Linked DNA regions of Homo sapiens: region 1 is linked to region 2. The links are contacts of gene promoters, found by promoter capture Hi-C in blood cells and fetal thymus (Javierre and others, 2016). All regions are on one chromosome and are shown on one strand. The core of a region is centred on a gene start or on the middle of the fragment in contact, and the rest is flanking DNA. Distances in the headings are between cores, read along the strand shown. Region 1 has its middle 29 kb from the start of ACKR1. Region 2 holds the start of APCS (amyloid P component, serum).

Region 1 (7,074 bases), core at 3,552-6,051, 360 kb after region 2:
ACCTGCCTCTGCCTCCCAAAGTGCTGGAATTACAGGCATGAGCCACCGCACCCAGCCCCTTTACCCTTTAAAAAATATATTCATTTGATGTTGGTAGTGGTGTTCATAAGCTTTTGCTAGCATTATTAATAGCAAGCAACATTTCTTAATAAATGACTGTGGATAACACAAATTAAACTTAATTTTGTTTTCTGCTAAAGACCATAACTTACGACATTTTTAAGGATCTTCTCTTACCTTGTTTAATATAAATTTAATTGTTTCTAACACCATTTGGTTGGCATTCCCATCAGGTGTCTAACAGTTGTTGTAAGGTCAAATTTGATATGTCTTACATCAAAATATTCTATTATTCTATCCTTGGTAGATTCAGAAAATATTGTATGTAATGTTTAAGTTGTTTCAAAGAATATCGCATCTATTGGCATAGTTGTGACTACGTCCTCTAGTGACAAATTTAAACTATGCAATGTATATGGCACCAAAAAGTCTGCTGAATTTTTGGCTAAAATTTTGGGATAGATATATTGATTTGAATTGAATTCTGTTTTGCTCAAACTATTCATACAATGTCAAAAGGATATCATGACCATTTTCTAATATCTTCACCTAATAAAGCCCAAGATAATAAAGCTAATAGCTTCTTCTTTAGTCATGGAATTTGCCAATTTTATAAATGTAACTTTCTTTATCTTTCAATGAGCAGGTCAAAATTGTGTTTGACGTTTCCAAATTGCAAATTTGCTGTTAATAATTCTTTTTTTCAAGCCCCCATAGCCAAGACAATCCTAAGCAAAAAGAACAAAGCTGGAGGCATCACGCTACCTGTCTTCAAACTATACTACAAGGCTACAGTAACCAAAACAGCATGGTACTGGTACCAAAACAGATATATAGACCAATGGAACAGAACAGAGGCCTCAGAAATAACACCACACATCTACAATCATCTGATCTTTGACAAACTTGACAAAAGCAAGCAATGAGGAAAGGATTCCCTATTTAATAAATGGTGCTGGGAAAACTGGCTAGCCATATGTGCAAAGCTGAAACTGGATCCCTTCCTTACACTTTATACAAAAATTAACTCAAGATGGATTAATGACTTAAATGTTAGACCTAAAACCATAAAAACCCTAGAAGAAAACCTAGGCAATACCATTCAGGACATAGGCGTGGGCAAAGACTTCATGACTAAAACACCAAAAGCAATGGCAACAAAAGCCAAAATTGATGAATGGGATCTAATTAAACTAAAGAGCTTCTGCACAGCAAAAGAAACTACCATCAGAGTGAACAAGCAACCTACAGAATGGGAGAAAATGTTTGCAATCTATCCATCTGACAAAGGGCTAATATCTAGAATCTACAAAGAACTTAAACAAATTTACAAGAAAAAAAATCCCATCAAAAAGTGGGCAAAGGATATGAACAGATACTTCTCAAAAAAAGACATTTATGCAGCCAACAGACATGAAAAAATGGTCATCATAACTTGTCATCAGAGAAATGCAAATCAAAACCACAATGAGATACCATCTCATGCCAGTTAGAATGGCGATCATTAAAAAGTCAGGAAACGACAGATGCTGGAGAGGATATGGAGAAATAGGAACACTTTTACACTGTTGGTGGGACTGTAAACTAGTTCAACCATTGTGGTAGTCAGTGTGGCGATTCCTCAAGGATCTAGAACTAGAAATACCATTTGACTCAGCAATCCCCTTACGGGGTATATACCCAAAGGATTATAAATCATGCTACTATAAAGACACATGCACATGTATGTTTATTGTGGCACTATTCACAATAGCAAAGACTTGGAACCAACCCAAATGTCCATCAATAATAGACTGGATAAAGAAAATGTGGCACATGTACACCATGGAATAATATGCAGCCATAAAAAAGGATGAGTTCATGTCCTTTGCAGAGACATGGATGAAGCTGGAAACCATCATTCTCAGCAAAATATCACAGGGACAGAAAGCCAAACACCGTATGTTCTCACTCATAAGTGGGAGTTGAACAATGAGAACACATGGACACAGGGAGGGGAACATCACACACCAGGGCCTTTTGGGGGCTGAGGGGCTTGGGGCAAGGGATAGCATTAGGAGAAATACCTAATGTAAATGACAAGTTGATGGGTGCAGCAAACCAACATGGCACATGTATACCTGTGTAACAAATCTGCATGTTGTGCACATGTACCCTAGAACTTAAAGTATAATAATAATAATAAAGGTCACATACACACAAAAGAAAATTCTCTTTTTCATTCTCATTGTTTTTATTGGTAATTAAGTTTTTATTTAGTAAGGGATATGAAGTTGCAGGCATTTCCTTTCACCTGTTCAAGTTGAAGATTTAGTAGGAATAATTTTCTTGCCCATGTGCATTGTTTTCATAAATAATTATTTATGTAATAAAACATTTGTAATGTAATAATCACACATTTTATCTGGGTATTGCATTTCAGAAGTATGGTTACTTTCATTGTTTATAATTCTAAATTGCTCATCTTTTTTTTTCTTTTTTCTTTACAGCTTCTTTTCTTTCATGAGCTCAAATTTCTTAATGTGTATATCACAATCTTGTACTCATTCTCATTTAAGGGATTTTAAAAATAGCTGTAAAAGTGTACAAGATTTGAGTATATTCTCATTAAAATTCAAATTAAAATAAATATGAAAGATTTTATAAACAAAATAACATGTATGTTTTTAAGAAAGTTTTTTTAAGTACTTAAATGTGTTCAAATAAAAAGGCAAATATGAATTGTATTTAATAAATATCATGAATTCAAGATTATTTTAAGCTAAAGTTTTATTTTTTAAGCTTTACTTAAATCTCAATATTTACTTAAAACTCAAATATTTTTACAAAATTAATTTGTTCACAATTCTAGAGTTCAATTTCTTTGTACCTGCCAATGTAAAGAATCAGGGCCATACCTTTCTAATATTACGCATATTATGTTGGCCACAAATGTCTAAAGTTAAGAGTTATATAAACTGTTTAACATTGCAAAACATTTCTCATCTGCCATGTGTAACCTGTGCTAGTTGATGATTCTCTGTGAAACTGCAAATTGGAATGCAAAGAGAAGCAAGAAAATGGACAATTGGCACTACTGGGGAATGATAATCTTTTATACAAGAATGTGATATATTCATGTTATCCTAGAGGACAAATTTGACAAGTTAATTAATTTGTTTTTTTCTGTCCTAATAGCTTCTGCCATTCAAACCCCTCCTAGTGCCAGGGTGTATCCATCTCCTAGCGCCACAATCCACCAACTTAATGGTATTTGGATACAATTGCTTCTTAAATTAACTTTATTATTAATTGACACATAATAATTATACATATTTATGGGGTACTGAATGATACTTTGATACAGTTATACCATGTGTAATGATCAAATCATGGTAATTAGCATATATATCACCTCAAAACACTTATCCTTTTTTTGTGTTGGGAACATTTAAAATCCTCTCTTCTCATAATTGTCTTTCATTTTGAGGACAAAGGACAAGAGATGTGGAGAAGCATTTCTCTGGGGGAATGAAAGGTGTTAGGGCAGATGTAAGGGTTATATGTCCTTAAGCCAGCACTGGACAATGGATCCTCGGGGCAGAAACCCCTTTGGGTTTTTATTTTAATTTTTTTATATTTTTATTTATTTATTTATTTATTCTTTTTGAAGCAGAGTCTCACTCTGTTGCTCAGGCTGGAGTGCAGTGGCATGATCTTGGCTCACTGCAACCTCCACCTCCCGGGTTCAAGCGATTCTCCTGCCTCAGCATCCCAAGTAGTTGGAATTACAGGCATGTGCCACCATGACTGGCTAATTTTTGTATTTTTAGTAGAGACCGAGTTTCACCATATTGAACAGGCTGGTCTCAAACTCCTGACCTCGGGTGACCCACCCGCCTCAGCCTCCCAAAGTGTTGGGATTACAGGCGTGTGCCACAGTGCCCGGCCCCACTTTGGGTTTTTTAATAAATTTAGTTTTGGCTGTGTTTATAATACAGTGGTCCCTCTCCAATGTGAGGCCTAAGGCAGGATTTCCTTGCCCAAATCAAAGAGTGTTACTGATACTAGCAATTGTTTTAAATACTTTCATGGTAATAAAATGCCATAAGTTTAGCTTATTAATATGCACATTGGTGATGAGAAGTCTTATTCCCTTTTTACCTGTGTCTCAAATGTTATCAATAACATTTATCAGTAGTCTAATTATATATCTTGAATTTCAATATCCTTTCCAGTTGTGGACATTGATGGCTTTTTTTTTTCTTCATCCTTTTCTCCTTCTCTGGTAAAATAAACAAACAAAAAACCAAAAAGTCTGCTATTCTAGTAACTGTACTTCCTCTGGGTGGTGTGCCAGGGGTTGGAATTTTCTGATTGGCCAACCTGGATCATCTGCTCATGACAGTCTTGGGAGAGATGAGGTCCCACCCACTGCGCTGGGTGGGCATGTAGTACAGGATGGTCCATCAAAGTTGCTTTCCCCACCCTAGACATGATGATTAGGTCAGAGATGGGCCTATGGCGCCAGCAAGGACTGGGTTTTGGGGGGGATTGATATGATCTCTAAGACTTTTCTACTTCAAAATTGTAAACACAAGACCATGTCGGCTGGGCGCGGTGGCTCACGCCTGTAATCCCAGCACTTAGGGAGGATGAGGCGGGCGGATCACGAGATCAGGAGATCGAGACCATCCTGGTTAACACGGTGAAACCCCGTCTCTACTAAAAATACAAAAAATTAGCTGGGCGTTGTGGCGGGCGCCCGTAGTCCCAGCTACTCCGGAGACTGAGGCAGGAGAATGACTTGAACCCGGGAGGCGGAGCTTGCAGTGAGCCGAGATCGCGCCACTGCACTCCAGCCTGGGCGACAGAGGGAGACTCCGTCTCAAAAAAACAAAAACAAAAACAAAAGACCATGTAAGCCTAGAGAGGCCACAATCTATTTTTGCTGTGAACTAGAGACTGCATACCTGAGGAAAAAAAAAAAAACAACACAGAAGAGCAAGAGCCAGAAGACTGAGAGAATGGCATCTGATGATTTCACTTGAGCCCCTGGATCCAACCTCACTTATTGTGGATTTTTGAGTTACATGAGCAATCACATCCTTTTATTCTCGTCTTTTCTTTTTTATCTACTTCTTGTTAAATTTTGTCATTTATAATGAATGTCTTCCAAATAATACACAACCTTCCTCCTACCTGCCTTCTGGTATTGTTCTTTTATGTACTTCAGCATTTGACATGACTTTCCCATTCAAGTCTCTGTGACACTGAATAAATGAATGAATGAAGCTAACAATGACTTACTGCTTTTTCCTACATTCAGAAGTACTTATCACATCTGTCATTTACTTCTTTGATATGTGTATTATTTTCATGTTTACAAATGAGGAAAAATTTGCTCATAAAGTTTATGTTTCTTGCCCACAATCAATAGCTAGCTAGCAACTGGGGCAGAATTCAGAGCCTGGACTGACTGACTTAAAAACCTAAACCTTTTCTCCCTCCTCAATGAATCACCAGTAACGAAAATAGTGTTGTTGGATTATTTGTTTGCTTAAGATACTCTAAATCAAGTTATCTCCCAGTTGCCTGTCTCTTAGCGGTTCCATGATTCTCTTTGCTTAGCATATCTCTTCACGTACTTCCCCCAAAGAGATCATTGATGTCTCCCCAGTGTCTGCAAATCAATTAGTTTAATAAGTAGTGATTCTCATGTTTGACTTTTGGACTTCTTCTTAGCATTTTTATGATTCTTCTTAGTATCTTCAGCACCAAGCACACACCCTGCCACATAGTAGGTGCTGCAGGCTACAGAAGAATTCTTTGAACCTTTGATTACTTGCTCCTTGACTATATGAAAAAATAACTACTGTGTTCCTGAGTCTTCTTTTTTCTAAAAGAGACTTCCTTAATCCTTTCAGTTCTTCCTTATAAACATGTTTCAGTTGAGGAGGGTTTAGGTTATTGCAGTCTTATGAATATGAAGGACAATTTTCTTAGGAAGATTACTTTGATATTTATGTACAGGTTGGTAAGAGGAAAAAGAGAAAGGAAAATGACCAGTGGTGTTCTATCACAGGAATAAGCCATGAGCTTTTCATGGCCCTTACCATAACACGACAATTATTTATTTTTCACTACTATTAGACTGTAAATTCCATAAGTGCAGGCACACTATTTGTCTTGTTTGTTAATTTTTTTGAATGTCAAGTATAAAACACATGACCCTGCACCTGGTGTGAAGCCTATAGGCTTAAAGTTAGACTACGTTAGTTCAAATCCTGGATCACTCTATAATATGCAAACTCTCATAGATCAAGCCACATAATTCCCATAGCCTTGATAGTTTTGTTTTTAAGTGGATACCAGTCATTCCTATCTCAAATATTCATTGTGAAAATTAAGTTAGGTAGTTCATAGAAAGTGTTTAGCATAATGATGGGCACATAGCACTCAAAAATGCCTTCAAAATTATTATCAGGCCTTCAATAAATATTTTTAAACGATCTAGTTGTAGTTTCCTGACCTTCACTATTCTTGTTCCTAACCTCTCCATACATGCTGGTTTGATAATGTTCCTTGCTTTTAAACAACATTTCAGGGGGAATATGACCAATGAAATATCACAAAGACTGGCCACCTTCCTTTTGCATAGTTAGCTTTCTCATCTAATCAGGAGTTGACTCCTTTGTGCTTGCAAGACCCCTAAAGCTTTCTCAAACATGTGTCATTTATCAGCTTCTTCATGGAAATCTTGGGGTAGTAACTAAGCACTCATCAGATTGGAATCCAGTAGTCAGGGTGATAGCTTTGGCTTTAAAACGAGGTGTGGACCTGAGGGCAAATAGAAAGGACATTATCTCCTCAGTAATCTGAGGAAGCAAAGAAAATAACTCTGGAATTGGAGTTGGATGGCAGGAGAACAAAAGTTAAAACTGGGAAGCAGGATGGAGATGACAATAAATACTTGCTTTCTGTGTCAGCAAATGCCAAGCTGAAGTAATAAAACTGTACTTATAGTTGTTAATC
Region 2 (6,556 bases), core at 2,813-5,312:
CCCACTGGGTCCCTCCCACGACACATGGGGAGTATGGGAACTACAATTTAAGATGAGATTTGGGTCAGGACACAGCCAAACCATATCACCATCTCTATTATAAATTATGTTAAAATGGACTGTCTTCAGTTTTGAATGAGCCATCAATATGATAGATATTAATGATAAAAATAATATACACAGATTCACTCAAATAAAGAATTCATGAAGGAAATGATTAAGAACCATCTCTACAACTCTTCTACCTTTTGGCTAGAACAAGGTGCCCAAAGAAGACAGAATGTGGAGATAGGAAGGAACTTTTCCAAAGAACTTCTTTGCAGAGAGCTGCTGTTTTGCTGTTGTTGCTGCTTTGAGGGAGTATTAGGTTATGTTATTTGTATCTTGAGAAGATTATTATTTTTTACTTCTTTACCCAACCTCAAGCCTAATGTGGGGGCTTCTGTGGAATCACTGCGGAAGCTTGAAATATCCCTCTTGCTATTGGGAGACTCAAAGGACTTGAGAAAGCTGCAACCACTGTGTAAATAGGAAAGAGTTGTCTATATTAAGACCATCTGAGACTTCTAGAATTTATAGGGACAAGAGATGTATAAGTGCTTCTTTTGGCTGAAATACAGACAACATAGAAGAAAGAGCTTACATGCAGTCATTTTGGATTCTGTTCAAAAGAGCCATTTTAAGAGGCAGAGGGTTCACAAGAACAAGAAACCTGTCACAAACACTGTATCCTGAGATCTATGCAAGTAGTTGCAAATGATCACCAAGAATAAATAATACCTTTAACTTAGGGGAAAGTGAGAGGTGGACTATGATATCAACCTGAGATAGAAGAAAGCTTAAACATGTGAGAGATGGATTACAGTACAGCCTGATTATTGTTAGGAGAAACCCACATGTAGTTAACACAGATTTATTAGAATGTAAATTCTAAAATAGCAAGCACCATGATTGTTTTATTCAATATTATATTTTCAGTACCTGGCATTGCCTGGCGTATTTTTGAGAAGTTGCTCAATAAATAGTTGAATGAATGGATTATATCACTTGGAAGTACACTGGTTTCATTTCTAAAATTGTCTTGGGTTCCTAGGCAAAGGGGTTGTTAAACCAAAACACAGTGTTAGTGAACATGATAGAAATATCTGTTATGCAAGAATAGATAGACCTTTCTAGTACTCACAGTACAAGTTTATGGAAAGGTCGTTAATATTGAGAAAGCGTAAAGCAAGCCTTAACTCATGAGCTGTCAATCAGAAATTAATAATTTCTCATATTGCTAAAATCCCTGTCTACCTAACCAACTCAATGTTCTAAGTAAGTTCTACTTGTCTTAGTCCATTTTGTGTTGCTATAAAAGAATACCTGAGACTCAGTGATATATAAAGAAAAGAGGTTTATCTGGCTCATCGCTCTGCAGGCTGAGAAGTTAAAGATCATGCCTCTGGCTTCTGGTGAGGGCTTTTGTGTTGTGTCAAAACATGGTGGAGAAATTCAAAGGCGAAGTGAACATGTGCGAAGAGAACAAAATCTAAGGGACATCCTGGCTTTATAACAGCTACATCTGGCAAGAACTAATCTGATCCCACAAGAGTTAATGCACTCTCATAAGAGTGAGAACTCACTCATTACCGTAAGAACAGCACCAAAACATTCATGAGGGACCCACCCCCATAGCCCAAATGCCTTTCACTAGGACTCACCTTCCAACAACACCATATTGGGAATAAAATTTCAAGATGACGTGTGGTGGCGGCAAACAAACCATATCCAAACCATCATACCACCTCACCAGAAATGAGGTTGAAATGTTCTTATGAAGCCCCTGCTGCTCCATTTAAGTACTTCAGCAAATCTTCCCAGGTTCTGTCTGCTCTCCTCTGCTTCCACCCCATTGTCCCATTATGGAGTTTCCAGATTCTATCCTACTTCTTCATATCTGGTGACTGCCTCTGTTCATTCTGGCCAAATGGCCTCATGAGTTTGAAATCATGACATTGGTTACCATCCTGAAGCTTCTGGATGCTATCTTTCTGATTCCACTGACTACATGCTCTACTTATTATCAGTGAGAAAAGCCTGTCTTATTTCCCATATATGTAGCTCAAACTCCCTCTGGGATCCTTGCTTCTCTGGGAATGCAACTTATATCTGTTGACGATGTGCCAGGCACTGTGTTCCATGCTTTTCATAACCATAAAAATAACTACTAGTAATAGCATCTGACAATTATTTTTCAGTGTGATAGTTAGGATGTGGCTTGCTCTGCTAAGAGTTGTATCTGAAATGTACATGGAAAGTCCATTTCAGAGAGTATTCTGTGTATACTCTCTGTGTACATTTCAGAGAGAGTAACTGGGACCAGGTTATAGAGGGCAATGTCATATTTAGAGGTTTAAATCATGTCCTGTAAGAAGTGTGAATCCATGGAAGAATTTTAGACAGCATATTCATGTGAGCAATATTCAGAGTATAATATTTTTTGATGACATCAAGAGAACATTATGAAAATCAAGCATTGTACAGTCCTACTGAGGTTTTTGAGACATAAAGTTATGTTTGTCTTCATACAAAATGATCCCAGTCTCATACTTTTTTGGTTTTCATTCTGACTTCTTCTAGTTTTATTCTTCCTGTCTTATTACTTGCTGTCAGGTTCTCAACTATTGCTTACTTATATCATTATAGTTGTCTACCTGATGCAACCTCAGACCCCTTTTTGATCGATTTGTAGCTGGAAAAACAAATAGGAGAATTGTGATTACAATTCCACACATATTTTGAATCGTCATTAAAATGATTGTTAGTAGCTTTTAAGTATTGCCACTGTTGTGCTCATTGAGTGCTCTGGCTTTGTGATATATCTTTCTAGTTACTTACAGGTTTTCCTCCCCGTACTTGGCAATTGGAGTTTTCAGGATAATGAAACACCAATTACCAATGAAACACCAATTAGTAGATAGATAAGTAGTAGACATAAGATAAAGATATGGGACTATGACAAGCACTAAACAAATGCAGGTAGCATAATACAATATATATTTTTTTAATTAGGCAGACATACAGATAGGAAATTCAAAGAAGAAAGAGCTGCAGATGTAAGATCTAGTATCCAGTTGCTTTGACCAGATCTCTTAGACAGTCATTTCATTTTCAAGTGCTCTCGTTGAGTCAAGACCTCAGACCCACACCAAGGGTTTGATGATGACATATCCTCTGATTTCATAGTTCAGAGCCTGCCAGTCCAGGATATTGGCAGGGAGAGGGGTACCCTGATAGGCAGACAGGATATTTTCTGGGGGCAGCACAGAGTCCCACATGTACAAATCCCCAATCTCTCCCACAAAGGACTGGCTCCTATCAAACTTGCCCCCATAGGAATCCTGTTCCTGCCCCAGGACAATCTTGGGCTGAGCTTCTACAAAGTAACCCTGTCGCAGACCCTTTTTCACCAAAGGTGTCCCATTGATCCAAAATTCAGCAATACCTGATGAGGACTCCCAGCTCACACAGATGTGCACTGGAGCCGGGAACTTTTCGATAACTTTGGATGTAACTTTGTGTCTTCCAATGTATAGACTATACTCTCCAACTCTTTCTTTATAAACTAGTAGCTCATTATCCCTGCCTTGGGTATTGTAGGAGAAGAGGCTGTAGGCACGAGAGAGATCACTATAGGCTCGAAAACACAAGGTAAAGTTCTGTAGAGGCTTCTCCAGCGGTGTGATCAAGTTTACATGATCAGTAACAGATTCTCTAGGAAATACAAACACCTTCCCACTGAGGTCTGCGGGATAAAGAAAGAAAGATAATGACCTTCAGTATAAATGCAGGGAAAAGATATCTCAGCTTCAACCTATTTTCTCACTTTATGATTCTTGACCATTCCTTCACCTCCTTACCTGTGTGAGCAAAGGCTTCCAGGAGGCTGGTGAGGACAGAGATCCAAAGCAGCGGCTTGTTCATATTCCTGGCCTAGGGCTGTTATAGCAGAAGCAGTGACCAGGATGAGGGTAGCAGACAACACAGTGGCTGTCCCCCTAGCGTCTGATATTCATGCCCTTAGACTTCAGGTTATTCAGGGTTTATATGCACCTTGGGTGAGGATGGGGGAGGAAGAGCACCAATAATATGTGAGTGATTTTCCAGGTCTGCCTCCTGGCGCTTACGGTGAAGGAGTGGTGAGCCCTGAGCTGGAAAATCAATGGGAGTTATTTATTAGAGACAAGTGATGGCTAGAGCTCCAACTCCTGTGACCCAGATTTTATTGCTGGGAAGAGAGTCATTGCAGGGCAGCAGGGTTATGGATGGGATGAGGCGCTGGGCTGGCCATGTCAGCAGAGCCTCTCTCTGCTCTCTGGGCCCCCTCTCTGATGGCTCTGTGCTCTGCCAGAAGCTCCTGAGCCACACAGAGTGTATCGCTGAGCTCAGCCCTCTTGTGGGCTATGGGAACAAGGCCTTTTCTTTCTTTTATAGTTCTCAAGTTGTCTTGTATTTGTAGGATATTCTAGGATTCTGCTTTCTGCTGAAGACCCTAAAAAGTGCCTTCAACTTTGACTAATTCAACATCAAGTAATACATCCAGGCAAAGCTAAGGGGAAAGAGGGACTTGGAGAATAAACTTTCTGTCCCCATGAAGCTTAGTATTTTTCTGCTACTTCTACTCAGTGCTTTTTTTTCGTTTGCATATCATGGTGCTTCCTTATCCTAGATCTTTCCATTTCTCATTACGACTTGTTTTCTGGTTACTTCATGCTACCTGCAGAGATGTCAGCATCTCCCCAAGTTTTTCTCTCCTCTTCTTTGAGTCCTTGGTCATTGAGTGTATATCTAATCCATCTTTGGTGATGACCCCACTAATACATTTATTCACTAGCTCTCAGTTACTACACTAGGTGCTGGGGATTCAGTGGTCACTGGCTCTCTCACAGCCCCAGAGATCTCCACCTTCATTCTTTCTATGTCTCCTTCATTCTCTCTCTGTACAGTTTATTAACCACCACTCAAACCTTCTCTGCCTCTGAGATATCAAACTGAAGTTCTTCTTTCTAGCCACATTATTTCTTTCTCTCTCATCCCTGAATTATATGGTGTCTTGTTTCTCATCCTACTGTTTAGCCTCTTGTTCACTCTCTCTTCTGTTAGCTCACCACAGACCTAATCAGCCTTTTCAATGACACAATCACTGCCACCAAGAATACACTTTCTCTATCATTGTTCAAAGTATCCTTCCTATTCTCATCCCTGGGGAGTTTCCATTCTCTACTTTTTTTCTCTAAATGGAATCCCAGGTTGTGAAGCCTTATCTGGCTTGTTGCACAGTATAGGTTAGTGATAAAGTTGGGATTATGCATCTATTGACTCCTGAATTAAATACAGACCATTTGCTTGGAAGCCAATGCCATTTGCAATCTGGCTCTAACCTGGCTATTATCTCAGAATCTAATCCTATTCTCCAGTCAAACACCTCTAATTGTTGTTCTTTATACCTTCCTGGCTTTCTTGATTTCATTACTTCTATTCAGTGCCTTCATACTGTCTTGAATTTCTCTCTTATTTTCTTTTCCTGTTTCTAGGAATTCCAGCCATTCTTCCACATTAATCTCAAGCTTATTTAGGTGATGGTTATAGTAAAAGCCCAGACTTCACTATTATGTTATTGCTGTCTATGTAATAAAACTAAACTTGTATGCCTTGAATTTATACAAAAATATAAAAAATAAAAAACAATCTGCTTCATGAAGACTTTTCTAATATCCCAACTATACATTATTTCCCCTCTTTCGTACTTCCCATAAGGTTAAGATCAAAGACTTTGGGATAGAATTCCAATGTTGCCATTTACTAGTGGCTGACTATTCTGCAAGTCACTAAACCCCTCTGAACCTTAGTTTCCTTCTCTGTGAAACAAAGATAAAACTATCTACCTCACAGTGTTTCTCTAAGGATAAATGAGATACTATGATATACATAAAGTACATGGAACAGTATCTGGATGGTTATTATTACCATCATTTTAGAGCCTTTATGGCTGTTACCACTATCTGTCTCATATTATAGATATTATTGTATTTATCTTGAATCCCTTCTAGACTGAATCTGGGTATTAGGACTTATTTATATTTAGATCATTGGTTTCATCTAACAATTTTTCTTACACATGAAAAGAAACTGTTACATATTGTGGAATCAAAGGACTCAACTTTGTGTGAGGATTTTTTTTTTTTTACAAGAAACAGTTTATTAGCAACAAAAAGTAGAATACAATTGAATAATATGATAAGGTAATACTGGAAGTAGGAGCAGGAAGGTAACATTTCTTGAGAACCCAGGGACTATGCAATTCCCTAACATTTCCAGATGTTAATTAATAAGTGCCATAAAACTCAGAGAACACAGGGCTTACCAGATGCTTCTAGTTTTCTTCATAAATAAATAAATAATCATTATCTTAACAAAAAATGGTTTGCAAATTAATATCAAAGAGAGTCTTCTCTAATGGGAGATAAGCCTAGGGAACAGGTCTTGGGGATAAGTGACACAGCCTTAGACTCAT

The links. Contacts are between HindIII fragments. The CHiCAGO score rates a contact against its expected background, and 5 or more counts as called.
Region 1: a fragment that was not itself captured here is called in contact with the fragment with the promoter of APCS in region 2 in 2 of 17 cell types (M2 macrophages and endothelial precursors); the score reaches 7.4 in M2 macrophages.

Annotation. Positions count from the first base shown.
Region 1 is chr1:159,229,907-159,236,980 of GRCh38, reverse strand. No RefSeq gene overlaps it. Among named protein-coding and RNA genes, the nearest start is that of ACKR1, 29 kb to the right of the region's middle. The HindIII fragment of the contact is 3,915 bases long and covers 2,844-6,758 here.
Region 2 is chr1:159,585,332-159,591,887 of GRCh38, reverse strand. APCS (amyloid P component, serum) reads right to left here and starts at 4,062. Exons shown (of 2, transcript NM_001639.4): 1 at 3,903-4,062; 2 at 3,023-3,787. The coding sequence starts at 3,966. The coding sequence ends at 3,180. The HindIII fragment of the contact is 2,624 bases long and covers 2,018-4,641 here.